7 separate regions of the Homo sapiens genome follow, and all the other regions are linked to region 3. Evidence: promoter capture Hi-C in 16 types of primary human blood cells and fetal thymus (Javierre and others, 2016). All regions are on one chromosome and are shown on one strand. The core of a region is centred on a gene start or on the middle of the fragment in contact, and the rest is flanking DNA. Distances in the headings are between cores, read along the strand shown.

Region 1 (3,993 bases), core at 740-3,239, 240 kb before region 3:
CCCAAACATGTATTCTGCCATCAGAGATCCAGAGCAATGAATCTAAGTTGCTTCAGGCTATCATGATAACCCTTTCTCTCATCCCCAAAGCTCATCGATAAAATTTGACATTTGCTCATCAGAAAACAATTCCCGATTCTGCGCTTCTTATCTGTGCTGTTCTCCCCCACAGGCAGAGGGTTGTACATCTTTGATTACTCCTAGAGTGGAGTAAATGGGATTGTTAAGCATAAGGATGAAGGCAAGATGGGGAGGCGGAGCATCAGATCCACACTCAGGTTTTGCAAAATCAAAACAAACAAACAATTCCCCAATAACAACAGAAGCCTCTAACTCTTTTTTTTTTTTTTTTTTTAAGACAGGGTCTCGCTCTGTCTCCCAGGCTGGGTGCAGTGGCGCCATCTCGGCTCACTGCAAGCTCCGCCTTCCAGGTTCACCCCATTCTCCTGCCTCCGCCTCCCGAGTAGCTGGGACTACAGGCGTCCGCCACCACGCCGGGCTAATTTTTTGTATATTTAGTAGACACAGAGTTTCACTGTGTTAGCCAGGATGGTCTCGATCTCCTGACCTCGTGATCCAGCTGTCTCGGCCTCCCAAAGTGCTGGGATTACAGGTGTGAGTCACCACGCCTGGCCAGAAGCCCCTAACTCTTTTAGAACAACGTGCTATTTATTAATAGGCTATTTTCTCATCTCCCCTTCTGGGAAAGCTCACTCAGAAAAACCCTTAACACACAACCAGAAAGCCTCTGGTTACAAGTGACCTTTGCAAAGTGTCCTGTTTTCAAAGGAAGGGGCTTCAAAATAAGAGAAGATGGAAGACATCTGAATTGGAACTCACCCCCGCACCCCAACCCTGGGGAAGAGGGTGGGGATCAAGATCACTGCCGGCCAGGCACCATGGCTCACGCCTGTAATCCCAGCACTTTGGGAGGCCGAGACAGGTGGATCACGAGGTCAAGAGTTCGAGACCAGCCTGGCCAACATGTTGAAACCCCATCTCTACTAGAAATACAAAAATTAGCCGGGAGTGGGTGCACGCTGTAGTCCCAGCTACTCGGGAGGCTGAGGCACGAGAATCACTTGAACCCGGGAGGCGGAGGTTGCAGTGAGCTGAGATCTCGCTGTTGCACTCCAGCCTGGGCGACAGAGCAAGACTCAAAAAAAAAAAAGAGAGAGAGAGAATATTAGCCTCTCCTTGTTCCTCCAAAAGGCAGAAACTAAACCCCCAGAGGCAAATCTACCAAGGCTGACCCACTCCCCACCACACTGCCCTGCTCCAACCCCACCGCCCCTCAACCATCCTCCCTACCTTCCAGGGGAATTAGGAACGGAGCAGAACTCCATGGCAGCCAGTCTTGGTTACCCACTGATTTAATCTCTGATTCCCGCCGTGAGGAGAAAGAATATGAATTACTATAAACCCATCTGTTCCCTTTCTTTCTAAAAAGACAAGGACCCGGGGCTGGGTAATAATACTGTTGGCATTACGGGAGGTCTCTAGCTCACTGGTGTCTCCCTCCCCCCTTCCCCCAACAGCGCATAATTTGAAGATTTTCTTTAAAAAAAAAAATGACTTTAACGCCCCCAACTAATGTTTTCCTAACAGTAATAATTATAAATTCCAAACAAAAACTTAGCGGCGTGTGTGTGTGTGTGTGTCTCTTCCAGGCTTTTCATTTCAATAGATCTGCTAATTAAAAGCTATAATTTAACAAATAATGACCTAACCATCTCACTTTGAAATCAAACAAAAACCTACCACTAAAATGTGGGACTAGATACAGATAATGAATCCGGGTGCAATTCACACTCCTGCTGGGCCCAGGCTGGCCCCCTTCCAGCAACGGGCCTACGCCTGTGATTAGCAGAAATAGCTTTTCCAGCCATTTGGAGCAAACAGGGAGGATAAGTGAGCAATTTATGAGTCTAACAGTCGTTTTGGACCCACGCCCACTGCTGAAGGAGCAGGATGGAGCATTTATCCCTCCCCTGCCCTCGTTCATTGACACTTGGTCAATTTCATTTTCTCCCCGGCCCTCTTTGGCCCCTGGGGGAGAGAGTTATTTCTTTTTTTTCTTTTTTTTGAGATGGAGTCTCGCTCTGTCGCCCAGGCTGGAGTGCAGTGGTGCAATCTCCGCTCACTGCAAGCTCCGCCTCCCGGGTTCAAGCCATTCTCCTGCCTCAGCCTCCCGAGTAGCTGGAACTACAGGGGCCCGTCACCACCCCTGGCTAATTTTTTGTATTTTTAGTAGAGACGGGATTTCACCGTGTTAGCCAGGATGGTCTCAATCTCCTGACCTCGTGATCTGCCCACTTTGGCCTCCCAAAGTGCTGGGATTACAGGCGTGAGCCACCGCGCCCGGCCCCTAAAGTTATTTCTTAATAACAAGCCGGAAGGATTTGTGAAAAGGAAAACTAGTAATGAAACCAGGTGAAGATGCCCACTGAATCCAGCATCCTAAATGTTTAATAAAATAATAAACGATGGGCTGGGTGCAGTGGCTCACGCCTGTAATCCCAGCACTTTGGGAGGCTGAGATAGAAGGATCACCTGAGGTTGGGAGTTTGAGACCAGCCTGGCCAACATGGTGAAATGCCGTCTCTACTAAAAATACAAAAATTAGGCTGGCATGTTGGAGGGCGCCTGTAATCCCAGATACTCGGGAGGCTGAGGCAGGAGAATGGCTATTTTTTTTTTTTTTTTTTTTTTTTTGAGATGGAATCTCACTCTGTCGCCCAGGCTGGAGTGCAATGGTGCAATCTCGGCTCACTGCAACCTCCGCCTCCCAGGTTCAAGCGATTCTCCTGCCTCAGCCTCCCGAGTAGCTGGGACTACAGGCGCCCCCCACCAAGCCTGGCTAATTTTTTGAATTTTTAGTAGAGACGGGGTTTCAGCGTGTTGGTCAGACTGGTCTCGAACCCCTGACCTCGTGATCCGCCCGCCTCGGCCTCCCAAAGTGCTGGGATTACAGGCTTGAGCCAGCGCGCCCGGCCGAGAATCGCTTGAACCCGGGAGGCGGAGGTTGCAGTGAGCCGAGATCGTGCCATTGCACTCTAGCCTGGCGACAGAGCAAGACTCTGTCTCAAAAAAAATTTTTTTAATGTAAAAAATAATGCAATGATAAAAAACAATGAAAGCAAGATTGTTTCCCACCTACCACGCCCCTTCCCTGAGCTGGGAATTGGGCACCTGTGCCAGGTTAAACATAGCCCGCTGTTCTGGAACCTTCCCCGCAGCCCCAGCTCACACCAGTCCGCTGAGAGGCTGCCCAGCTGCTGTACAGGAAATGCTCACGCTCCGTGGGAGGAGCCTTCAAACACTCACCCCTTCCTGGAGTCCCGGCGGGACGGGAGAACTGGGGACTCTGCGAAAGCGCTGCGGAGCGTCCAAGAGCTCCCCGTGGAGCTGAGGCAGGAAGACCGCGCACTGGCTGAGACCCCAGGAGCCCAAAGCTGGACCTGGCGCAGGCGCAGGGAGGAAGGCGCTTCTGGGTGTGCAGAGGTCACACGGCCACCCGAGGACCTCAGCCTAATCCTGCCTTGAAATCTTAAATCCCAATGTCCGCCAGGCGCGGTGGCTCACGCCTGTAATCCCAGCACTTTGGGAGGCCGAGACGGGCGGATCACAAGGTCAGGAGTTCGAGACCAGCCTGGCCAACGTGGCAAAACCCCGTCTCTACTAAAAATACAAAAAAAAAAAAAAATAGCCAGGCGTGGTGGCAGGTGCCTGTAATCCCAGCTACTCGGGAGGCTGAGGCAGGAGAATGACGTGAACCCGGGAGGCGGAGCTTGCAGTGAGCCCAGATCGCGGCACTGCACTCCAGCCTGGGCGACAGAGCGGGAGTCCGTCTCAAAATAATAATAATACAAAAAAATTAGCCAGGCGTGTTGGCGGTCGCCTGTAATCCCAGCTACTTGGGAGTCTGAGGCAAGAGAATTGCTTGAGCCCAAGAGGCAGAGGTTGCAGTGAGCCGAGATTGCACCATTGCAC
Region 2 (3,978 bases), core at 1,170-3,669, 190 kb before region 3:
GTTGGGGGAAGGAGAAGGGCTGGTGGGGGCCCCGGCCTTATCCTCCCAGTCCATAAAGTGCCCCAGTTCCCAGGAGGGACCAGATGAGTGGGGATGGGCTGGCAGACTTGTCTTATGCCCAGAGAGTGAACTGATGGAAAGGGTGTGGAAAGTGCACAGCCTCGGAGTCAGAGGACAGGAGCTCCAGCTTCAGCTCTGATGGGCCTGGGACCAGGGTCGGTTCCTGACTAGCTGAGCCTCAGTGTTTCCTGGTATCAAGTGGCAGGAAAGAGCCTCCAGCAGAGGCTTTTGTGAGCATCACCCGAGATAAAGGACGTGACTGTGCTTTGTAAACACTAAAATCCCTGCAGTCAGCCGGGGAACCCCAGAAGCAAGCAGTGCATATGGTAGAATTCAAAAAGTAGGTGACCCTTCTGTGGGCACCCATAGGTGGCCCGGTGAAGTCATCCAACCAGGGGAAACATTTTTTATTATTTTGTATTAATTAACTTTATTTTTGAGATGGAGTTTCACTCTTGTTGCCCAGGCTGGAGTGCAGTGGTGCGATCTCGGCTCACTGCAACCTCCGCCTTCCGGGTTCAAGTGATTCTCCTGCCTCAGCCTCCTGAGTAGCTGGGATTACAGGCACCAGCCACCACGCCCGACTAATTTTTGTATTTTTAGTAGAGACGGTTTCATCATGTTGGCCAGGTTGGTCTCGAACTCCTGACCTCAGGTTATCCACCCACCTTGGCCGCCTAAAATGCTGGGATGACAGGTGTGAGCCGCCACGCCCAGCCCAGGGGAACCATTTTCTCTTTCTTTTTTTTTTTTTGAGATGGAGTCTCATTCTGTTGCCCAGGCTGGACTGCAGTGGCATGATCTCAGCTCACTGCAACCTCCACCTCCCAGGTTCAAGTGATTCTCCTGTCTCAGCCTCTCGAGTAGCTGGGCTTACAGGTGCCCACCACCGCACCCAGCTGATTTTGTATTTTTAGTAGAGATGGGGTTTCATCATATCAGTCAGGCTGGTCTCAAACTCCTGACTTCAGGTGATCCTCCCGCCTCAGCCTCCCAAAGTGCTGGGATTACAGGCGCCTGCCACCACGCCCGGCTAAGTTTGTATTTTTAGTAGAGATGGGGTTGCATCACGTTGGCCAGGCTGGTCTCGAACTCCCGACCTCAGGTGATCCACCAGCCTCGGCCTCCTAAAGTGCTGGGATGACAGGCATGAGCCACCGCGCCTGGCCCAGGGGAACCATTTTCAAAGGTGACTCTCTGCTGTTCAAGAAACCCATGCAGCTTGGTGAGGTGACTTTGGGGGGTCATCCGGGTCTGAACTGCCGATTTTCTTCCTTTCATACACGTACATCAGGAAGTCCCCAAGGATCTCTGCCCATTTCAATGAACCCTAAGCTTTTCCCCTAAAGACCTCGCTGCTCAAACTGTGCTCCCTGGACCTGTGACGGGATTATCGAGGAATGTGTCAGAAACGCAGAACTCCAGGCTCCATCCCTGAACCGGATTGGAATCTGGACTTTAATAAGACTCCCAGCCCAACCGTCAACGTTGGGAGGCACTGGTCTAGAGTGTGGGGTGCCCAACTTGAGCTTGGGACCGAAAGCCTGGGGTTCAGCTGTGGGGCCGCCAGCAACCTTGGCCACTTAGGAGAGGGAAGCGTTCGGGTTTGGAATCAGCGTGCCCAGCTTCAGAATCCAGGTCCCACACTTTCTCACTGTGTGAATTGGAGCGTGTGTGACAGTTTCCTCCATGAGTGAGTCTGATTGACATGCAGGTACATGCAAGGCAGGAGCCCACCAGCCCAGGACATTAGCCTCCGTCTCACCAAATGACGCCTTGGTCTCCATCCTGCTGCTGCTTGTTATTTTAGCCAGGACTTTTTTTTTTTTTTTTTTTTTTTTTTCCCCAGACAGAGTCTTGCTCTGTCGCCCAGGCTAGAGTGCAATGGCACAATCTCGGCTCACTGCAACCTCTGTCTCCCAGGTTCAAGCGAATCTCCTGCCTCAGCCTCCTGAGTAGCTGGGAATACAGGCACGTGCCACCACGCCCGGTTAATTTTTGTTATTTGTAGTAGCGATAGGGTTTCACCACGTTGGTCAGGCTGGCCTCGAACTCCTGACCTCAGGTGATCTGCCCGCCTCTGCCTCCCAAAGTGCTGGGATGACAGGCGTGAGCTGCCGCAGCCGACCAGAGTGGTGCACATTTTAATCAGTCCAGTAACTAAGCAGGGAAAGAAGTCTCAACAGTTAGATAGCAAAAGTCTCAGGACTGATTCAGATTGGCTCAGCTAGGGTTGCATGCCCACCTCTGACCCAGTGCCACCTGAGCCAGTCACTGAGGCCACAGTCCTCTTACTGGCAGGAGTTCAGTTACTCCAAGAGCTCCAAACCAAAGAGGTTCCCAAGCCTTAGCCTTCTCCCCTTATCCCTATTACCACTTCCCACTGGGAACCAGAAACCCAAATCCTCCAGTCAGGGACTTGAAGAGCCAGTGTTCTGAGCCCTGTTCTGCCATATCTGTTTTTTTTCTTTACAGTTCAGAAGAAATAAACTTAAGCAGGGAGCTGGGCTAGCAGAGGCCGGCCCTGGCCATCGGGAGAGCTCTGACCTGCACACCGCGGGAGGCCAGGGTGCTGACTGTCAAGCATCCCCTGTCCCCAAGTTCCAAAAGCACAGACTCAAAGGGAAACCCCCCAGTCACCCACTGTCAGCCCCCATCTGACAAGAAAGCCTGGAGCGAGGAAGGAAAGCACAGCGAACCCAATGGGTAACGTGGTTTACTCTCCCGGACGCGTCCTGGGATCTCAACCCCAGCAGTCTGGCTTGTTTCTCATTCCCACAATTTCCTGGGTTCCACCAAGCAGCGAAAACTGCCAGGATGAATGAGGAAAAAACCCAGCCCCACAAACGAGACACACGCTGGCGGGGAGAGACGCAGCAGAGCTCCTTCCTGTCTGTGGACTCGGAGCAAAGACGTGGGGCCCCATCTTTTGTGTTTTCCTCAAGCGGGGAAAGAATGGACTGTTTGCATGCTTCGTGCCACACGCCCGCGGTGATCCCAGCCAGGGCCCCGAGCGCAGAGGCGGAGCTGTGCTCAGCACAGGCCTGGGACCTCCCCCGGCAGGCACCTGTGGGGGGTGCAGCTCCCGGGAAGGAGGCAACTGCCTCACTTAACATCCTCCGCTGCAAGGTGGTGGCGCCGAGAGGCGTGTCTGTGAAGACAGGTACCAGGATGGCAGGACCCGCACGCCTCTTCCCACACCTGTCAGCTTCGGAAGCATCTCTCGAGGACTCTGGTCCCAGGATGTCTCCCAGGACAAGCCAGTCTGCCTCTTCCTCCTACTTCTGCTGTAGCCTGGGACCAGACCTGGCCAAGGTCAGCCAGCGGGGAGGGCCGAGGTCTGAGCTCTCGTCCTGCCGTGGCCCCCGCGATGGCCTGGGGTGCAAGCTTGGGGCTCCGTCTGGTGCTGCTTAGGTAGTTTCAGGCTTCCAGCCCAGCCCTATGCTCTGTGCTTGGCCCTGGGCCCCTGGCCATCCACAAACAGCAGAGGCCTTCCCTGGAGGAGGCTTTGGGACCACCCCTGGGGGGACTTCCCAAAGGGTCCCAGGCTGTCAGGGGCGTTTGCGCCACCTGCAAGGGCGTGGGTCAGAGAGTTTTTATGGGGGTCTGTTGTTTGACCGTCCTGAGACCGAGGGAAGGGCTCAGCTGAAGGACCCCGTCTGCAGGAGAGTCGGGGGACCAGGTTTGGGAATACACTTGCATGTACAGAGCCTGGGGCCTGGACGCCACGGCCTCTCATCTTAGGACCTAATGGGACCCCCGAAAGGAGCCAAGTGGGGCCCTCGGCCTCTTCCTTCGTTCCAGGCCCATGATTTTCCCTACACTTCTCCCTGGCCCAGGCTCCAGCCACAGGCACCTCTCCTGCCCCCGCCCACCCTCCTGACCGCAGCTCCCAGGCCCTGGAGACCTCCAGGCTTT
Region 3 (3,929 bases), core at 1,428-3,927:
CAGACTGAGTGACAGAGACACTGTCTCAAAAAAAAAAAAAAAAAAAGAGGGCCTTTGACCCCTAACCTGTACTCCCTGTTTAATGTCCTTGTAGAGAGAAGGGTGGCACTGTTTGAGCTGGTCATCACAGCCTGGCATTAACAGGCCTGCTCTCCTGCCTCCACTCCTCACACCAAGTAGTCACGACCTGCTAAAACCTCACCTCCAGGCCGGGCGCGGTGGCTCAGGCCTGTAATCCCAGCACTTTGGTAGGCCTAGGCAGGTGGATCACAAGGTCAGGAGATTGAGACCATCCTGGCTAACACGGTGAAACCCCGTCTCTACTAAAAAAAAAAAAAAATTAGCTGGGCGCGGTGGCACACACCTGTAATCCCAGCTACTCAGGAGGCTGAGGCAGGAGAATAGCTTGAACCCGGCAGGTGGAGGTTGCAGTGAGCAGAGGTCGCACCACTGCATTCCATCCTGGGCAACAGAGCGAGACTCCATCTCAAAACAAAACAAAACAACAACAAAAACAAACAAAAACCTCACCTCCATCACTGCTCCTTACCTGGGCCAAGACAGCAGCCTAACTGGCCTCCTTGCCTTCCTCCTACCAATCCATTTCCTCTGGGGCAACACAAATCAAATCAACACCTCATGTTCATAGAGTGAAGGTTTAGGACACCCTCCATATGCCAGGCCCATGATTCACACTCACTGCTGCTTACCAGGACCCTGCCTATGAACTCCCGAGACCCCCCTGCTGTCCCCAGTTTACCCCACTGCTCCTGCATTCCGATGTGCCAGATGGCCCGCTCCAGTCCCCTCTCCCCCCACCCCTCCCCCCAGGAGGGGGCCTTCGCACCGTCGCCAGCCAGTCCAAGCTTCAGTGCCTGCACCTGCGGCTTCCCCAGCCCGGGGCACTCTCCCTGCCCACCTCACTGAGACTCGGCTCAGGTGTCACCTCCTCCAGAACCCCTTCCTGATTCTCCCAAACACGCAGCGCCTCCTTATCGCACCCCGCAGGAATCAGCTGTTTCCTTGTCAGTCCCTCCCAGGAGACGGCTCCCACTCCCTACACGCAGCGAGGCACACGGTGGGGCTCAGTCACCCCTTCCCGGACCCCTGGATGAATGAATGAATCTCAGAGCCAGGCGTGTGCGCGGGAGGCCGGAGCGTGAGGACTGAGGGCCGCGTGGCCATCCTCCTTCTCCGGCCACCCCGGAGCCCCCCGCCCGTCACACTCGGGGCGCGCTGGGCCCCAGGGGCGGAGAACGGGAAGGGGCGGGTTTAGGCGGCTTCTCCGGAACCCAGAGGCGGAGCAGGGCTGCGGGCGGGGCCCGAAGGGCGCGCAGGGTCCTGGGTCCTGCAGCCCAGGCCGCTCTTCCCCGCCTCCCGCTCCCCGCAGGTAAATCTAAGTCTCCACCAGGCTGCGCCGGCGCCTCCGGGTCGTGGGACCCCCCCCCCCCGCACGGGTCCACGCGGCCGTTCTTCGGCCCCAGCGATCCCCGGCCGTGACCCCTGCCTCGTGCACGGCGGCTCCCGGCCCGGCCGCCCGCTCCCCACACCCGCCCCCCGCGGCCGCCGTCCCCGCGCCCCGAGTACCCACCGGCGTGGCTCTTCCGGCGCGGGCGGGGCCGGGCTGGGCGGCGTGGCGGGCTTGGGGATCCGCGGCCCGGGCGCACTCTCCCCGCCCAGGGCCCGCCGGGGGCCGGGCCGCAGCCTGTCGTCATCCCGGGCAGGGCCGCGCACCCTCCGGCCCCGCCCCGCCCCGCCTCAGCCCCGGCCGCGTCCGCGAAGCCTCGGTGCGTGCGGCCCCCGCCTCGGCCCGTTCCCGGGGCCACAGCGAACACGCGCGCGCCCCTCCGGCCGAAGACCCGGCTCCCCGCCGCGCTGCTGGGGGCGTGGGGGCGCCCGACTTTCTCCCTCCTCCGGGCCCTTTGCATCTCCAGCCCCTTCCTGCGGGCCGGGCCAGGGCCGCGCTCCCCCGTTTCTACCCACCCGTGACCCTTCACCCACCTCCCACACCGTCCTTCTGTTCTGAGTCTTGGGCGGTCCCAGCCCTGCGGACTGGAGAGGAGCGGGGCGTTGACTGAGCCTGGAGCTTCCATGCCCTGGTCCTTCGACCTCACAGCAGCCGGCACTTGCCTTTTGTGCCCAGTATTCACGGTTCTGCCCACTGAGGTTCGGGAAGCCGGGGAAGAGTCAAGCCCAGACCTCCACTTCCAAAAATCCTGCTGCTAGTGGCCCTTGCATCCTTACTCTTCCACTCACCCCGTCTTGTTCAGTCTGTTCTGGCCCCGCCAAGGATCGGAACCCCTCCCCGCTGCTCAGCTCTTGCCCGAGGGCTCGCCTGAGAGGGGCTGCCCGGCCTTGGGGAGACGCTCCCACCCTCCTCCCAGCCCAGAGCATCCCAGCTTACAAGCTTGCAGGGCCTGTGGGGATGAACCACGCGGATGATCTCCCCGGTGGGTACCAGCTCCACTTGCAGCGCCATTCCGCCCTGCGGAGAGCCAGCGGCCTGGGCACCGCGGCCTGTGAGCAAGAGCTGCCTGCCCACTGGCGGGCTCCGACCACTCCGGGACCAGGAACCTACGGTCTAACGCCGGGATGGCCACTTGGTTCTGCTTCAACTGCAGCCCCAGGGGATGTGGCTGGTCCAGCTCCTCAGGACACGGCTGGAGCCGTCCAGGTCTGACTGGGAGGCCTCTTGGCCCGGATGGTTGGAGCAGGAAGAGGAGGGGCTGGGGATGGAGGAAATGCCTGTTGTCCCAGGTAACCAGAGGAGCCGATGCAGCCACCCATGGGGGACCCTGGGCTCCAGGTCAAAGGCTAGGACGCCTTTCCCCTTCCCCCCATCCCCACGGCAGCTCTATGGCTGGGCCCCTCCTCCTGCCCACTCTCTGGTACCACCTAGAGAGCACGGGGCCCACTCCCCAAACCAGACGGCATGCCCTCCCCTAGGCCAAGAGGACCCGTTAGTAGGCACTGGCTTTCCTGCACATCCCCTCAACGGGGCTGCCCCCCACAGCAGGTGAGCCCCCACCATGAGTTTGAGAGACCAGGGCTGCTGGGGCCTGGTCATGCAGGGCCCGGACAGGGGGCTGTCCCGCTGTGAGGAAGCTCTTGGCTTACCCTCCTCTGAGCCTCAGAGCTTGTGAGGTTAGTTCCTGGGTTCCCTGGGTGTGGGCAACCTCTAGCCCTGTTCATCCCTTGCGTTTCAACAGTACCCCCAGGTGACCCCCACCCCTGATGTTCCTGCTTTTCTATTTTTATTGTTGCTAAATCACAGCTGACACTTTCCTGGCCTGAGACTGAGCCCTCCAGTCTCCAGCCATTCCTTATAGGAAGTAAGAACAGGGAAGTGGATAGGGGAAACAGACCTTTCCAGAGGGAGAGGCTGGCATAGGAAGGGCTGAGTCCCGTGGGTGTGTGCTGGCACCGACAGCCCCATAGGCAGGGGCCTTCCCCCCGGCACCCTTCTCTCTCCCCACAGCTTCCCCCGCCCCGGAAAAGCTAGCAAGCCTTCCTTCCTTCCTCCGGGAAGCACATCTATCCAGAGCAGGCTCATCCCCGGCGGCCACACAATGGCCCTTATCAGCCGTGGAGCCAGGCGTAGACCCAGTGCACACCAGGTCTCACTTATTTCCTGTTTCCACCCAGTGGGTCGGGGTGGACCCAGAACGGCCATATCCTGACTGGGGCCCAGAGGACGGAGAGCACCCCCCATTCCCCTTTCCGCCTCTCAATCACTGCTGGGCTCACCCCTCCCACACAGGAGGCTGGGTGTGTGGCGACCTCAGTTCACCACGGGGGAGGTGAGCATGTGGGGGGACCCCTGGGGTCAAGCCCCGGGGCCGCATTAATCAGAACGGGGAGGCGGGTCTAGTGCGATACACTTTCTGCAATTGTTCTCCCACAGTAATCTTGAGAATAGGGACATCATC
Region 4 (3,732 bases), core at 1,177-3,676, 220 kb before region 3:
ACAAAAAATTAGCCGGGCGTAGTGGCGGGCGCCTGTAATCCCAGCTACTCAGGAGGCTGAGGCAGGAGAATTGCTTGCCCAGGGACACGGACGTTGCAGTGGGCCGAGATCGCGCCACTGCACTGCGGCCTGCACAACAGAGTGAGACTCCGTCTCAAAAAGAAAAAAGAAAAGAGTCTGGGAAATTAAGGTTGGGAAACTCGTAAGAATTATAGGAAACTGGGCAGCTAGACCCACGGCCAAGCCAGGAACCTCCTCTAGATGCCAGTGTAGGACGTGGAGGGCCACAGGCCCCGCACTGGCACCGTGATTTCTCCACTGTTACCTGTTTGTTTCTTTGGGACACCACTCCAGATTCAAGTCAGGCAGCCAAGTGCCTGGACTCGCATCTGTCCCAGTTACCAGAAATCTCTGCCACCCAGAGCCCCACCATGGAGGCTCCCTTCTCCCCAGATAGGAAGGCTGTTCAAATGCCACATAGCAAACAGTGATAACAAAAACATCCACCACGGCACACGCCTGTAGTCCCAGCTACTCAGGAGGCTGAGGCAGGAGAATCGCTTAAACCCGGGAGGTGGAGGTTGCAGTGAGCCGAGATTTCGCCACTGCACTCCAGCCTGGGAGACAGAACGAGACTCCACCTCAAAAAAAAAAAAAAAATAACCGAAGTCGTGGGTGCCCTGGGTCTGAGGTGACCATATGCCACTGGCTTTCTTGTCCCCATGTCCATGGCTGGACCTTTGTAGAGAGAGTCTCTGAACTAAGGCTTCTGCTCTTAAAGGAGAATATGGAGACGACACCCCTTTTTGTCATCTGCTTTATCCCATTGGCACCCCCACATGTCAATTCTATTTTCCAAACAGGTGTTGACTCCGTGCCCTTCTCTCACCACTGCCTGCATAGCTCAGGCCCCCCCTTCCTCCAGGATCCTTGCTTCCTAAGTGGAATTTGTCTTAACATCCATTCTCCACACTGCTCAAAGAGCTCTAGCTGTAATTCAAATACGGCTGACATTCCTCTGCTTAATAACCTTTTGCAGTACCCAGCTGCCTACAGGGCGAAAAGCAAGCTTTTGGGACGACGCCTGGTGATCTCCAGCCTTATCTCCCGTCACTCCCTGGCCTCACATTTGGTGGTTTGGCAAAGTCACTTTCCTGTATTTTTCGCATCATCCTGTGACCGCTTACACTTCCAGGGCCTGGCACCTGCTGTTCCCTCTACCTCCTGTCTGCTTGGCAAACTGCTATTCATCCTTTGAAATCCAGTTCAGGGCCGGGAGCGGTGGCTCACGTCTGTAATCCCAGCACTTTGGGTGGCCGAGGCGGGCGGATCACTTAAGGCCGGGAGTTCGAGACCATCCTGGCCAACATGGTGAAACCCCGTCTCTGGTAAAAATACAAAAAATAGCTGGGCACGATGGTGGGTGCCTGTAATCCCACGTACTCGGGAGGCTGAGGCAGGAGAATCGCTTGAACCCGAGAGGTGGAGCTTGCAGTGAGCCAAGATTGCGACACTGCGGTCCAGCCTGGGCGACAGAGCGAGACTCGGTCTCAAAAAAAAAAAAGTTTTTGTTGAATGAGCGCATGAAGGGGCAGAGGCTGCAATTGCGCCCCTACGTCTTCCACACCGGGCGTGTGGGTTGAAACGCCAGGGTCTCGCCTGGGAGAGAAGGAGGCTCAGGGCTTCCCGGGACCCGCTCTCCGGAGGGGGTGGGGTCGAGGCCCCCGTGAGCGGCTCCCGGACTTTCTCTCCCGGGCGGGCGTTCCGTCCTCCCTCGGGGAGCGGCGCCGGAACTTCCGGAGGAAGAGCCGGAACTTTTGAAGCCCAGGCCCCGCCCGGCGCTAATAGGCACCTACGCGGCCGCCGGCGGAACCGCCAGACCCTAAATCACGGCGCCCCGCCCGCCCCCGCCCGCCCCCGCCCGGGCCGAGAACTCGCGCTCCCGGGCACGGGCAGGTGCCGCGGAAATGCCGGGCCCGCCGCTCGCTTTGAAGTCGGCCGCGCCCCGCAGCGCCCGGGAGTCCCGGGTTCCAGGAGGGGGCGCCTCTCCCGGGTCCTCGGGGTTCTTCGCGTGGGGCCGTTTCCTGACGTGCGCGGGGAAGGGCGGGAGCGGCCGGGAAACGCCACCGGGAAACGCGCGCTGCGTGGGCATTTTCTTTGCTTTTACTGACCTTTTTTTTTTTTCTGGTTTATTTTTTGTTGTTTTTGAGACGGAGTCTCGCTCTGTCCGCCAGGCTGGAGCGCAGTGGCGGGATCTCGGCTCACTGCAACCTCCGCCTCCCTGGTTCAAGCGATTCTCTGCCTCAGCCTCCCGAGTAGCTGGGACTACAGGCTCCCCGCCACCACGTCCAGCTAATTGTTGTATTTTAGTAGAGACGGGGTTTCACCGTGTTGGCCAGGCTGGTCTTGAACTCCTGACCTCAAGTGATCCGCCCACCTCGGCCTCCCAAAGTACTGGGATTACAGGCGTGAGCCACTGCGCCCGGCCTCTAGCTGTTTTATAATTCGACATATATTGCAGATTTGGGGGACATAGAACCTGGGAAATACAGATGTCCTTAGGATGCTTTCATCCTAGTGGGCAAGGCAGACAATCACAGAAGTAAATACATACACTCTGCTTCCTAATGCCTTATTATTTTCTTTTATGGAGAAATTCACAGTTTGAAATAATGGGGTTATTGGCAATGCTCTTTTGGCGAGATGGATGTGAACCACACACCCATTCCAATGCCATAGGCCTTGGCATCTTAGAGGCATTTGGATTGTGACTGGGAATGAGTGGCCTTCAGGCGCTCCAAATAACTCAGCTGTGGATGCCGGAAATTCTACTGGGGGTCTTTCTTTGGGAATAAACATCATCTTTTTTCTGAGACCCTCTTTCAAATGCAAATCCCTGGGGGAAGAGGACAGAGGCTGCTCATTGAGTTCATAACCTGGCAGGGCTGTGTCACAAGATGGGGCTGCCCGAGGGCTCTGGACCCCAAAGATGCCCCTGATGTGGACCCAGGGCTGCAAAGGGATCTTCCCCGTCACCCTCTGCTGCTGACTCATCCCAGCTCTGCCTGCAGAAGGGGAGTCAAAGGGCAGTGGAGGGAGAGTCAGGCCCAACCAAAACCCGAACCCCAATTGCAGCCAGCCGCCCTCCATAGCTGAAAAAGCCGGAAGCTCTGGGTCAGCTTTACCTGCAGGGCCCTGCGCCTCCCATATGAGTCCTGCCGGGACACTCATGCTTTTCCTCAGTGACATCTCTGTGGTTGCCCACGGGACTTGACAAGAACTTTCAAGGTTTTGTTGTTGTTTTTGTTGTTGTTTTTCTGAGACGGAGTCTCGTTCTGTCTCCCAGGCTAGAGTGCAGTGGTGCGATCTCGGCTCACTGCAACCTCCAGCTCCTGGGCTCAAGCCATTCTCCTGCCTCAGCCTCCCGAGTAACTGGGATTACAGGCGCCTGCCACCACGCCCGGCTAATTTTTGTGTTTTTAGTAGACGGGGTTTTATATACTCTGTTGGCCAGGCTGGTCTCGAACTCCTGAACTCAAGTGATCCGCCCGCCTCGGCCTCCCAAACTGCTGGGATGACAGGCGTGAGCCCCAGTGCCCGGCCCTCTGCCTCTTTTTATTCCTATCAGCTCTCCTGCTAGAAGCCAAACTTAGCACCTTATCTGGGAATGGGGAGGAAGAATGTGGAACCCAGACACCCCACAGCGGCCCCAGAGCTAGGCAGGGCAAGGTC
Region 5 (3,598 bases), core at 314-2,813, 180 kb before region 3:
TGCAGTGAGCCGAGATCGCGCCATTGCACTCCAGCCTGGTGACAGAGTGAGACTCCATCTCAAAAAAAAAAAGCTTCCTCTCCCTCCAGGACAGAGCTCTCCAGAAAAGCCTCTCCCCCGCTGCCCTCCCCAGGCTCCCGTCTTCCTGACCTTTGCTTTGGATCTGGTTCTTGCTCTTGGCCCTCGCCCTGGAGCTGGATGCTTTGGTCGGGCTCTTGCCTCCAGCGTCTCCTTTGCTATCAGCCTGCCCTCCCATTGCCCCAGTTGGAGGCAGGGCTGCCAGCTCCAGCCTGGCCAGTGGGGAAAATGGATGCGTCTACCTCCTGGTTCCCTGCTGAGGTCAGAGGCCCTTTCCGACCTCCTAAGCCACTCAGGGGGCCCGTGGCTGTACAGGATATCCAGTGAACAGGCACCACGGATGCTGGAAAATCCAGGTAATGGGATTGAACCCGGATCTAAGAACGGGCCAGTGTGATTTGCTCTCACCCTTAAAACCAGACCCCACAGTCTTCCCAGAACTCATCCACCTGTTGGGTCTTTGGGAAGTCCCAGGGCACTGAGGTCTCAGGGTACAGAGGTCCCAGGCTTGGCTCCCTCTGGTTGTTAGCCCGTGCAGACATTCCAGGGTCTACAGACGCTCCCTGGAGAGGGGAACACGAGGTTCCAGGCAGGGCCCGGCTGCCCTCCCAGGGGAACCGAGCTGGAGGAACTCATGTTTTCATCATGGCCCGTGGGAGCCACTCATGGGCTGCTTAAACAGGCAGGAGGTAAACACACACCCCAGGCGACCAAGATCAGCGGCTCCCTGCACAGCGGGTTTAATTATAAGAGCAACATAATAGCGACAGGACAGAAAGGGGGGGAAATGGCAGGGAAAACCTCTCACCAGCCCACAGCCTCCACATTCCCACTGCCTGGCTGTGAACCTTCTCCCTCCTGGGTGACTTTGCCCAGGGGTGTGGAGTGGGTTTTTTCCTTTCTTAATTTCATTCCAATTGCAAAATTAATACAACGTCATTGCAGCAAACTTGGAAAATGCGAAAAGCCTGAAGAAGAAAACAACAATTTCTCTAAGTGGGTTTTTTTTTTTTTTTTGAGACGGAGTCTGGCTCTGTCACCCAGGCTGGAGCGCAGTGGCGCGATCCTGGCTCACTGCAACCTCCACCTCCCGGGTTCAAGTGATTCTCCTGCCTTAGCCTCCCAAGTAGCTGGAATTACAGGCACTCACCACTGGGCCCGGCTAATGTTTATATTTTTAGTAGAGATGGGGTTTCACCATGTTGGCCAGGCTGGTCTCGAACTCCTGGCCTCAAGTGATCCACCCTCCTCGGCCTCCCAAAGTGCTGGGATTACAGGCGTGAGCCGCCGCGCCCGGCCCCTGGGGTTGGTTTGTGCAGAAGCGAGAACCTGCTCAGGAGCTTGCAGCTGGTAAGAGTGGAATTAGAATGGGAACCAGATATAATAATAAAAGCTTCATCTTTTAGAAAAAGATCAAATCAGAAATATGGGTTACATTTGTAAAAGGCTTTCAATTAAAAAGAGGCTGTGAAGCACATCTTGGGAGGCCTAAAAGTCCTTTTCATTTGGATATTGTTTTATCAAAAGCCCTAGTTTGTGCTGATAAGAAAATGGATTTCACAAGATTGAATCTAACAAAAAGCTTTGGCTAGCTGATTAATTAGGTGAGTCACAGGTCTCCTGGGAGTTCAAAGTCAGGAGTTTAAAGACCCTATGAAAACACATAGGAAGCCGGGCTTGGTGGCTCATGCCTGTAATCCCAACACTTTGGGAGGCCAAAAAGGGTGGATCATGAGGTCAGGAGTTCGAGACCACCCTGGCCAACATAGTGAAACCCTGTCTCTACTAAAAATATAAAATTAGCCAGGCATGGTGGTGGGCACCTGTAATTCCAGTTACTCAGGAGGCTGAGGCAGGAAAATCGCTGGAACCCGGGAGGCGGAGGTTGCAATGAGCCGAGATCGCCCCACTGCACTCCAGCCTGGGCAAAAAGAGTGAAACTCCATTAAAAAAAAAAGAAAGAAAGAAAGAAAAAAGAAAAATGTAGTAATAGTTCACCAATCTCTCCATCACTTCAGATAAACTGGGCCAGGCACAGTGGCTCACACCTGTAATCCCAGAACTTTGGGAGGCCGAGGCAGGAGGATCACTTGAGCCTCAGAGTTTGAGACCAGCCTGGGGAACCCAGGGAGATCCCTTCTCTACAAAAAAATGCAAAAAAATATGAGCCAAGCATAGTGGTGCATACCGTAGTCCCAGCTACTTAGGAGTCTGAGGAGGGAGATTCATTTGAGTCCAGGAGTTGGAGGCTGCAGTGAGCCGTGATTGCGCCACTGCACTCCAGCCTGGGTGACAGAGCAAGACCCTGTCTCAAAAAATACATAAAAACATTAAAAGAATAAAAAATAAAGTTCAGACAGGCTAGGCACAGATGAATTAAATCCACAGTAAGTACTGTATTTTTATTTTCACCAAAAATGTCAATCTTATCCTCAGTGCTAATTTTCTGGGGGAAAACCACGAGCTACGCTGTTCTACTCTCAGAAGCTCCATTTTGCTCACATTCAGCTCTTTCTCTTTTTTTTTTTTTTTTTTTTTTGAGACAGATTCTCACTCTGTTGCCCAGGCTGCAGTGCAGTGGCGCGATCACTGCTCACTGCAACCTCCGCCTCCCGGGTTCAAGCGATTCTCCTGTCTCAGCCTCCCAAGTAGCTGGGATTACAGGTGCCCACCACCACACCCAGCTAATTTTTGTATTTTTAGTAGAGACAGGGTTTCACCATATTGTACAAGCTGGTCTCGAACTCCTCTTGACCTCAGGTGATCCACCTCCCTTGGCCTCCCAAAGTGCTGGGATTACAGGCATGAGCCACTGCGCCTGGCCTCAGCTCACATTTATTGAACATCTACTATGTGCCACTTACTTTCACATACATTTCATTTGACCCATGACAACCTATTTTATTTATGTATTTATTTATTGAAATGGAGTTTCGCTTTTCTTGGCCAGGCTGGAGTGCCACGGGTCGATCTAGGCTCACTGCAACCCCCACCTCCCAGAGTCAAGTGATTCTCCTGCCTCAGCCTCCCAAGTAGCTGGGATTACAGGCATGAGCCACCACGCCCCGCTAATTTCTTGTATTTTTAGTATAGACGGGGTTTCGCCAGGTTGGTCAGGCTGGTCTCGAACTCCCGACCTCAGCTGATTGGCCCGCCTCGGCCTCCCAAAGTGCTGGGATTATAGGCATGAGCCGCCTCGCCCAGCCCACCTTTTGGCTATTGTAAATATAATACTGCTGTGAACATGGGCTTGCAAAGATCTTTTTGAGATCCCGCTTTCAATTCTTCTGGGCATATACCCAGAAGCGGAACTGCTGGATCACATGGTAATTCTATTTTTAACTTTTTGAGGACTTGCCTTACTGTTTTCCATAGTGACTGCACTATTGTGCATTCCAACCGACGGTGCACAGGGGTTCTAGTGCCTCAGCATCCTCACCAGCACTTATTTATTTATTTATTTATTTATTTATTTATTTATTTATTTATTGAGATGGAGTCCCACTCTGTCGCCCAGGCT
Region 6 (3,870 bases), core at 604-3,103, 150 kb before region 3:
GAGACGGGATTTCACCGTGTCAGCCAGGATGGTCTCGATCTCCTGACCTCGTGATCCGCCCACGTCGGCCTCCCAAAGTGCTGGGATTACAGGCGTGAGCCACCGCGCCCGGCCAATGTTAGCTAAATATTAACAGTATCTATTACAATCCTACGAACTCAAAGAAACAGGATAAAACAACACAGGGCTTGGTTTTCCTGATCCAGGTTGGATCTGGGAGCATTCCCATTTCCTCTCACAGTGCTCACAAAGGCTTCCTTTAATGACACACTCTAGGATTTCACCAGTTTTCCATGAACTATTACTTGTTACAATTTTCAAAAGAACACAGGGGTCACACCTTTATCCCGCTTTTTCAGCAAGCCTCACTCTCCTCTATTGTCCTAGGATCAGGAAGCAGCTAATTTGGGGTCTCATTTATAAGGCTCAAGGCATTTGTCTGGGACAGAAGCCAATTAATGTCTCCATTTATCCCACCAGTTTCCCCTTTCAGTGATGGAAGTTCATCCCCATCTTCCTATAGGACCGAAATTTAACTTTGCAGACGTGCTGTTCTGAGGACCCACCCGGAACAGAGCATGTACACAAACCCACTTACTGTCGCTTCTAACATTGTAGGAAGCCTTTGGGTTTTCCAAGGCAGCAAAGTACTGAGATTTGTAATTAAAAACACATATTAGCTACATTCAAGTTGTAACTAACTAAAAACTTCTACTTAAGTCGACTGATCCTCAAAGTAAGACTCAAATCAAAACCAGAAAAGTTTGGGGGCAATTCCCTTTCCAGCCCACAAATACAGGAACTGGGAGTGACACCGTCCTCACAGGGCTACGGCACCTTTCTGCAGCTTCCCTGGCTCCCTTTCAATTTTTTTTTTTTTTTTTTTTTTTTGAGACGGAGTTCTGCTCTTATTGCCCAGATTAGAGTGCAGTGGCGCGATCTTGGCTCACTGCAAGCTCCGCCTTCCAGTTTCCAGCGATTGTCCTGCCTCAGGCCTCCCAAGTCACTGGATGTTAATTACACCCAGCAAGGTCGCCCGCCACCACGCCTGGCTAATTTTTTTGTATTTTTAGTAGAGACAGGGTTTCCCCATGTTGTCCAGGCTGGTCTCTTAACTGCTGACCTCGTGATCCACCCACCACGGCCTCCGAAAGTGCTGGGATTACAGGCGTGAGCCACCGCACCCGGCCTTTCAATTTTTGATAAGGATCTTTCCTTTTTTTTTTTTTTGAGACAGTCTCACTCTGTCGCCCAGGCTGGAGTGCAGTAGCGTGATCTCGGCTCACTGCAACCTCTGCCTCCCGGGTTCAAGCGATTCTCCTGCCTCAGCCTCCCGAGTAGCTGGGAGTACAGGCGTGCGCCACCATGCCTGGCTAATTTTTTGTACTTTTAGTAGAGACGGAGTTTCACCGTGTTAGCCAGGATGGTCTCAATCTCCTGACCTCGTGATCCGCCCGCCTCGGCCTCTCAAATTGCAGGGATTACAGGTGTGAGCCACCGCACCCAGCCGAGTGGTTTCTTTAAACTCTGCAACAGACTTGACGAATTCCTTGGATTTTGACCTTTAAGTGTAGCAGGTGTGCTGGAAACAGAGCAAATCAACTTGAAAGCTTCTTGGAGGTTGCTCCAAACAGCAGCATATAATTATATTCAATGGTCTCCCTATCTCTCGGAAAAGCAACTCACAAAAACATGTTTATTCTCATTGCCAGCACTCACTAAACGCTACTAGGATATCGCTGATCTGTTCATTTCCTAAATCTCTGCTACTAACACTTTAAACCGAGAGTAAACTTGCAGTCTCAACATCCAATTTTAGAAGACAAGTGTGACGAGGAAGGATTTATCAACTGAAAAATGTTTACTGACACAGGGAATCTAGAAATGTACCTTCCAGATACATACAAATATTTAAGCAAAAACTGTTCCAAGGGTATTTCCTGCAGCACCTGCCCAAAAGGAGCAAACTGGTCTTAACAAAATCAGGTGTACATCAATGTTACGCAGTCAGAATGAGACACATCTGAATGCCTAACATAAAAAGATCTACAGTAACTAGGTATCTATACACATTGATGTATAAACTGTTTATGGAAAGAAGCTTCTTATACAGTGTTTCTGGAAAGGGAGACTGCTATCCTGCTGTCTATAATGTGTGTATGGATTACTAAGAAAGGATTGAGTAATTCTCCACTACTGCCACTAGCCTCTGGAGGAAGAGGGCACACAGTTTTTACCTCTAAGAATTATTATAAGACATTCAGCCTTATTTGGTTGTATGAAATACTATGCTAGAAAATGATCCATAATTACACCTTGTACTACTCATGTTGTACTTTAATGATTAAAATAAATACCATGTTGCTGCCTGGTCTGGAGGACAAGACACACCATCAACTGACTCAGTGTTCTTCACAACCAGACTACAGGCAATTTTTTTCCAAAACATACATCTTTGGGAAGCAAACAAATTATTTATGGAAGAAAAAAGGAGGAATGTTTCACATTCAGGCAAACATAATACTGTCAGTGTGTTTGGACTAGAGATTTTATTTTAGAAGTATAAAGGATGGAGGCGCGATATTTGGCATTTTTAATTTAGGTTTGTTTTATTTAAGTTTAATGTTAATTCCATGCTGTGTTTCAGTAAGAACAATACAGATTCTGTATCTGTGGCTCCAGTCAGATATCCAGTAGTACAAATTAGCTTCAAGTTACACATACTGAACAAAAGAGGTTGAGCGAGCGAAGGAGGGGAGGAGTGAGGGGAAGGAGGTAGGGGGAGGGGGAAGGAGAAGAAACAAAAGAATTGAACAGGCATGCAGGCTTTTCCATACCACCTTCAACGCTAACCTGCTTCAGTGGGAGAGTAAAGTAGGCAAGAATGAGCAGCCACGGATTGTTGAACTGTTACCAGCACCATGCTTTTCAGCAACATTTCAGCGGAGTTGGAAACATTTTTTACAGCAAAACCATTACAACGAAGTCCCTCCCCAAACCACCTTTAACCATCTCAAGCTAACACCCAATTACTTGCAAACACTGGTATAAAACACAGTTTAAACAATTAGAAAAATGAAAACTGATACCACTTATGCCTCTATAGTGTGATTAACCTCTCTCTTAGATGCTTGCATCACCTATAAGTCTAATGGCTTTCAAATGTAATTTCCATTTGCTAATGGTGATCTTGCCACATCTGGCACGGAGACGACACAGTAATGCTGAAAAAGCCTCTATGTAGTCCTGTTAGTGTCTTAAAGAACCTAAAAGCTGGGACCAGTAAAATCCACAGAAATTCACTCTTGCCTTTAAGAACTTTTGAAAACTGTTTAAAAAAAAAAAAAAAAAACCAACAGGGCAGGAACCTAAATTCTGAGACCAAATGTAAAAGTCAGATTTGGTGGTTCTCAGTGACAATGGGGAGTTTCCAAAGGGTGGGATGGGGAGGAGGGGGTGGTCAGAGATGGTTTCTCTTGTTGGCTTATGTCTCACTGATTTTCGTCTTCCACGTCCTGCAGCGCTTCTTTATTCTGCTCTTCACCTGTTAAAAAAGAAAAAAAGTCAATTATTTCGTATTGACTACATTAGGCTATGGCAGCCACAAACAAAGGTGTCATTCCAAGCATAAAGACTCTTCTACTTGCTACAATTGGTATTAAACGCAGGCAAAGGACTTCTATCATCCTTGACACCTGAGATGCCTAAGCCAAGAAGGGATTATGGTCCTGAAAGTATTTATTGGTCAACAGAATGAAAAAAACTGATGCGCAGTACAACTCAATGTTTTTACGCTAAATAAGCTCTTGACGTAGACAGCCAAGGAAACCATCTTACTAAAATGACATTCAAGCTTTCACATAAATCTTG
Region 7 (3,630 bases), core at 223-2,722, 190 kb after region 3:
ATCAGAGACTCCTACTGGTTTTCTCCTTTCTCTTATATCCACCAAGATGAGCTGTCAAAGCATCAATCCAAGACTGTGGGACAGGGAGAAGGGAAAAGGGCCAAATTCCAAATGAAATTATTTCAGGATGTTCCTTACCCCAAGTAAACCCTTTTGTCATGGCGGAACTTCCTGTTGGTCATGTCTCCATGGTCTCGAATGATCTTCCTGACATGTTCTGGGGGCATGTCTTCCTTCTGGGCATCCACAAACCCAAACTTCCGCTTTTCTGCATAGCGCTTGGCCTGCAATTGCTGCCATTTTCGAGCTGGAAAGGCACCTCAGTTTAAAGGCCTGCACACCCTCCCCCTAATCCTCTTCACCTCTTGCCCTAGGGTAAGCTCCTGTCAGTGAGTGTGAGGGAGAAGCAGGCACCAGCAGGAAGAAGCACCCCTTGCCAATTCCCTTACCATTTTACTCTGTTTTTCCTTTCATCACATTGATCACTATCTGACTTTTTTTTTTTTTTTTGAGAGGTTGTTTCACTCTGTCTCCCAGGCTGGAGTGCAATGGTGCGATGTCGGCTCACTGCAACCTCCGCCTCCTGGGTTCAAGCCATTCTCCTGCCTCAGCCTCCCCAGTAGCTGGGATTATAGACACGCGCCACCACACACGACTCATTTTTGTATTTTTCGTAGAGACGAGGTTTCACTGTGTTGGCCAGGCTGGTCTCGAACTCCTGACCTCAGGTGATCCGCCCGCCTGGGCCTCCCAAAGTGCTGGGATTACAACCGTGAGCCACCGCGCCCGGCCTGACATTTTTATTACAGAGCTTCAAGGTTTTGTTATTCTCTGTCTCTCCCGCTGTAATTTAAACCCCGTAAGGACAGGAATTTTGTCTCCGTCACTACTGTACCCCCGCTGGATCAGCGCTTGCAAATAATACGCGCTTAAAATGACTTGATGAAAAATTAACTGGAAATAACAAGGGAGCTGACACCTCAGGAGCTGCCCAAACGGGGAGGGTCCCCACCCGCCTGCGCGCGCGCACACCCGCCCCGCCTCCGGCCCGCGCGCCGCTCCACACTCTCGCCTCACCTTTCTCCTGCAGCTTCTCCTCCGACATGTAGTCCGGTAGCGGGGCTAGAGGGCCAGGCACCGGGTTACCCGGCCCTCGATAAGGAAACACTCCGGCCATATCCGGAGAATCTGGGGAGCGGCGGGATAGAAAAATTCACTAACCACAGGCCCGGGCCCACAAGAAGCGCAGCAGAAAGGCGTCCGGGGACCCCGGCCTGCAGTCCCGCCACACAGTGCATCCAGCCCCGCCCGGCCTAACCCCTTCGGTCACTCGGCCCGACCCGACCACGCCTCCCGCAGCCCGGCCTTAAACGCCTGCCACGCACCCCACAGGCCCTCACACAAGAGGCCGCTTTCCCCGCAGCGCAATGGCGGCCAGACTGCGTCCGCTCCGCGTTCCCAGCGCCGGGAAGTGCGCAACCCGAGTTCAGCAGTTGATCCAGTCGGCGCCGAGGTGCTCAGATGGATTAGTGAGACGACCAATTAGAGTTGCACACTGCGCCGAGGAGGCGGGCCCATAGGCGGAAAGGCTTTGAACGCAAGGGGGTGTGGTCGGGGTGAAGCCCCGCCTCCTCCATTTCCGAGGCTGTTTCTGGGGCCTCTGACAGACCTCAGCGTGTGATGGGCTCCCGGCGTCGCACTGTGAGAGAGCGAAGTCTAAAGGGTTTGAATAAATTTGCCAAGATTGCGCATTGTACGATGTCTGTTGTCATCAATGTGTACATGCAATGCAGTACTAGCTCCTGGACAGTCATTTGTTCATGCATTCATTCATTTAACCATCACTGTCTACCGAGGACGAGGGATAAAGCAGGAAAAAAGACAACCAGTAGAGTTCACAGGGGAGCAGAAAGGCAGGCAAGAATTAAGACCTTGGCCGGGCGCGGTGGCTCACGCCTGGAATCGCAGCACTTTGGGAGGCCGAGGCAGGCGGATCACTTAAAGCCAGAAGTTCGAGGCCAGCCTGGCCAACATGGTGAAACCCCGTCTCTACTAAAAATACAAACATTAGCCGGGCGTGGTGGCGGGCGCCTGTAGTCCCAGCTACTCGGGAGGCTGAGGCAGGAGAATCGCTTGACCCGGGAGGGGGAGGTTGCAGTGAGCCAAGATCGCGCCACTGCACTCCAGCCTGGGTGACAGAGCGAGACTCTGTCTCGGGGGAAAAAAAAAAGTCTGAAATTCTGTGGAGGGTGCAGAGGAATTGTAACCCATACAGCCCCTGAATCTAGTTGAGAATTTACAAATCAAAGTGAAATAATTAGAAAAAAATTCAAAGGATGTCAATGTGCTTTCAGAACGGTAAAAATTTAAAAAATATTCCTTTTGTTTTTTTGAGACAGGGTCTCACTCTGTTGCCCAGACTGGAGTGCAATGGCGCGATCTCAATTCATCACAACCTCCACCTCCCAGGATCAAGCAATTCTCCTGCCTCAGTCTCCAGAGTAGCTGGATTACAGGCACGCGCCACTACTGCCGGCTAAGTTTTGGATTTTTAGTAGAGACAGGGTTTCACTATGTTGGCCAGGCTGGTCTCAAACTCCTGACCTTACGAAATCCTCCTGCCTCGGCCCTCCCAAAGTGCTGGGATTACAGGCGTGAGCCCCCATGCCCGGCCTGAAATCTATTTTTTAATGCTGGGTGTTCTAAAGGTCCCTACAGTCAAAAAAGACAGAGGAGAATTGTTAAAGATTTGATGGAGATGGATGGATGTGAGGATTTCATAAAGGTAAATGGAGAGGAAGGAAAAAGGTAATCCCAAGTGGTAGAACTACTAGAAAGAGTTAAGAAAGAAGCCGGGCACCGTGACTCATACCTGTAATCCTAGCACGTTGGGAGGCAGCGGCGAGAGGATTGGTTAAACTCATGAGTTTAAGACTAGCCTGGGCAACATACTGAGACCCTCATCTCTACAAATAATAAAAATATTAACCAGGCATAGTGGTACATGCCTGTAGTCCCAGCTACTCGGGAGGCTGAGGTGGGAGGATCATGATGGCACCACTGCACTCCAGCCTGGGTGACAGAGCGAGGCTGGTTTCATAGAAAAAAAGTGGGGGTTTTGGTTTGTTTTTTGTTTTTTGAGGCAGAGTCTCACTCTGTTGCCAGGCTGGAGTGCAGTGTCACAATCTCGGCTCACTGCAACCTCTGCCTCCAGGATTCAAGCGATTCTCCTGCCTCAGCCTCCTGAGTAGCTGGGGTTACAGGCATGTGCCACCACACCCGGCTAATTTTGTATTTTTCGTAGAGATGGCGTTTCTCCATGTTTGTCAGGCTGGTCTCGAACTACTGAGCTCAAGTAATCTGCCTACCTCAGCCTCGCAAATTGCTGGGATTTCAGGCGTGAGCCACCGTGCCAGGCCAAAAAAGGTTTAGATATAGAAACTAACATGGCATGCTCTGAAAATAGGCACCATATCAATCTGGCTGTGCTAGAAAGTCCAACATCATCATTATCATCTTCATCATCATCATCGTCATGGTAGTGAAGTCCTTTCACCTGTGTAAGGTTCACTACGTGCCAGACATTGCTCTAAGCCCTGGTGAAATCCTACTATGGTCTGTAGTTTCATT

What was found. The method cuts DNA at HindIII sites, captures the fragments that hold promoters and counts their contacts. A CHiCAGO score of 5 or more calls a contact.
Region 1: a contact is called between a fragment that was not itself captured here and the fragment with the promoter of MYO1C in region 3, in 1 of 17 cell types (endothelial precursors). The highest score is 6.9, in endothelial precursors.
Region 2: a contact is called between a fragment that was not itself captured here and the fragment with the promoter of MYO1C in region 3, in 1 of 17 cell types (activated CD4 T cells). The highest score is 5.1, in activated CD4 T cells.
Region 4: a contact is called between a fragment that was not itself captured here and the fragment with the promoter of MYO1C in region 3, in 1 of 17 cell types (endothelial precursors). The highest score is 5.6, in endothelial precursors.
Region 5: a contact is called between a fragment that was not itself captured here and the fragment with the promoter of MYO1C in region 3, in 5 of 17 cell types (endothelial precursors, naive B cells, M1 macrophages and 2 more). The highest score is 8.6, in endothelial precursors.
Region 6: a fragment that was not itself captured here is called in contact with the fragment with the promoter of MYO1C in region 3 in 14 of 17 cell types (activated CD4 T cells, endothelial precursors, total B cells and 11 more); the score reaches 10.5 in activated CD4 T cells.
Region 7: the fragment with the promoter of PRPF8 here is called in contact with the fragment with the promoter of MYO1C in region 3 in 1 of 17 cell types (neutrophils); the score reaches 7.3 in neutrophils.

The regions. Positions count from the first base shown.
Region 1 is chr17:1,250,587-1,254,579 of GRCh38, forward strand. No RefSeq gene overlaps it. Among named protein-coding and RNA genes, the nearest start is that of BHLHA9, 18 kb to the right of the region's middle. The HindIII fragment of the contact is 4,133 bases long and covers 1-3,993 here.
Region 2 is chr17:1,295,716-1,299,693 of GRCh38, forward strand. It overlaps TRARG1 (trafficking regulator of GLUT4 (SLC2A4) 1 (gene/pseudogene)), which reads left to right. Exons shown (of 3, transcript NM_172367.3): 3 at 2,536-3,978. The coding sequence ends at 2,549. Among named protein-coding and RNA genes, the nearest start is that of TRARG1, 18 kb to the left of the region's middle. RefSeq lists an enhancer at 3,093-3,687. The HindIII fragment of the contact is 2,052 bases long and covers 1,394-3,445 here.
Region 3 is chr17:1,490,009-1,493,937 of GRCh38, forward strand. It overlaps MYO1C (myosin IC), which reads right to left and starts at 2,678. Exons shown (of 32, transcript NM_001080779.2): 1 at 2,405-2,678. The coding sequence starts at 2,479. LOC105371483 (a long non-coding RNA gene) reads left to right here and starts at 2,779. Exons shown (of 2, transcript XR_934145.4): 1 at 2,779-3,617. RefSeq lists an enhancer at 1,010-1,729 and silencers at 1,014-1,453, 1,534-1,933. The HindIII fragment of the contact is 5,990 bases long and covers 2,406-3,929 here.
Region 4 is chr17:1,266,508-1,270,239 of GRCh38, forward strand. No RefSeq gene overlaps it. Among named protein-coding and RNA genes, the nearest start is that of BHLHA9, 2.1 kb to the right of the region's middle. RefSeq lists enhancers at 1,128-1,931, 1,932-2,734 and a silencer at 1,793-2,022. The HindIII fragment of the contact is 2,719 bases long and covers 1,068-3,732 here.
Region 5 is chr17:1,315,397-1,318,994 of GRCh38, forward strand. No RefSeq gene overlaps it. Among named protein-coding and RNA genes, the nearest start is that of TRARG1, 38 kb to the left of the region's middle. The HindIII fragment of the contact is 189 bases long and covers 1,470-1,658 here.
Region 6 is chr17:1,341,956-1,345,825 of GRCh38, forward strand. It overlaps YWHAE (tyrosine 3-monooxygenase/tryptophan 5-monooxygenase activation protein epsilon), which reads right to left. Exons shown (of 6, transcript NM_006761.5): 6 at 2,320-3,544. The coding sequence ends at 3,492. Among named protein-coding and RNA genes, the nearest start is that of YWHAE, 56 kb to the right of the region's middle. The HindIII fragment of the contact is 491 bases long and covers 1,609-2,099 here.
Region 7 is chr17:1,683,395-1,687,024 of GRCh38, forward strand. PRPF8 (pre-mRNA processing factor 8) reads right to left here and starts at 1,473. Exons shown (of 43, transcript NM_006445.4): 1 at 1,386-1,473; 2 at 1,078-1,188; 3 at 139-307. The coding sequence starts at 1,177. The HindIII fragment of the contact is 11,873 bases long and covers 1-3,630 here.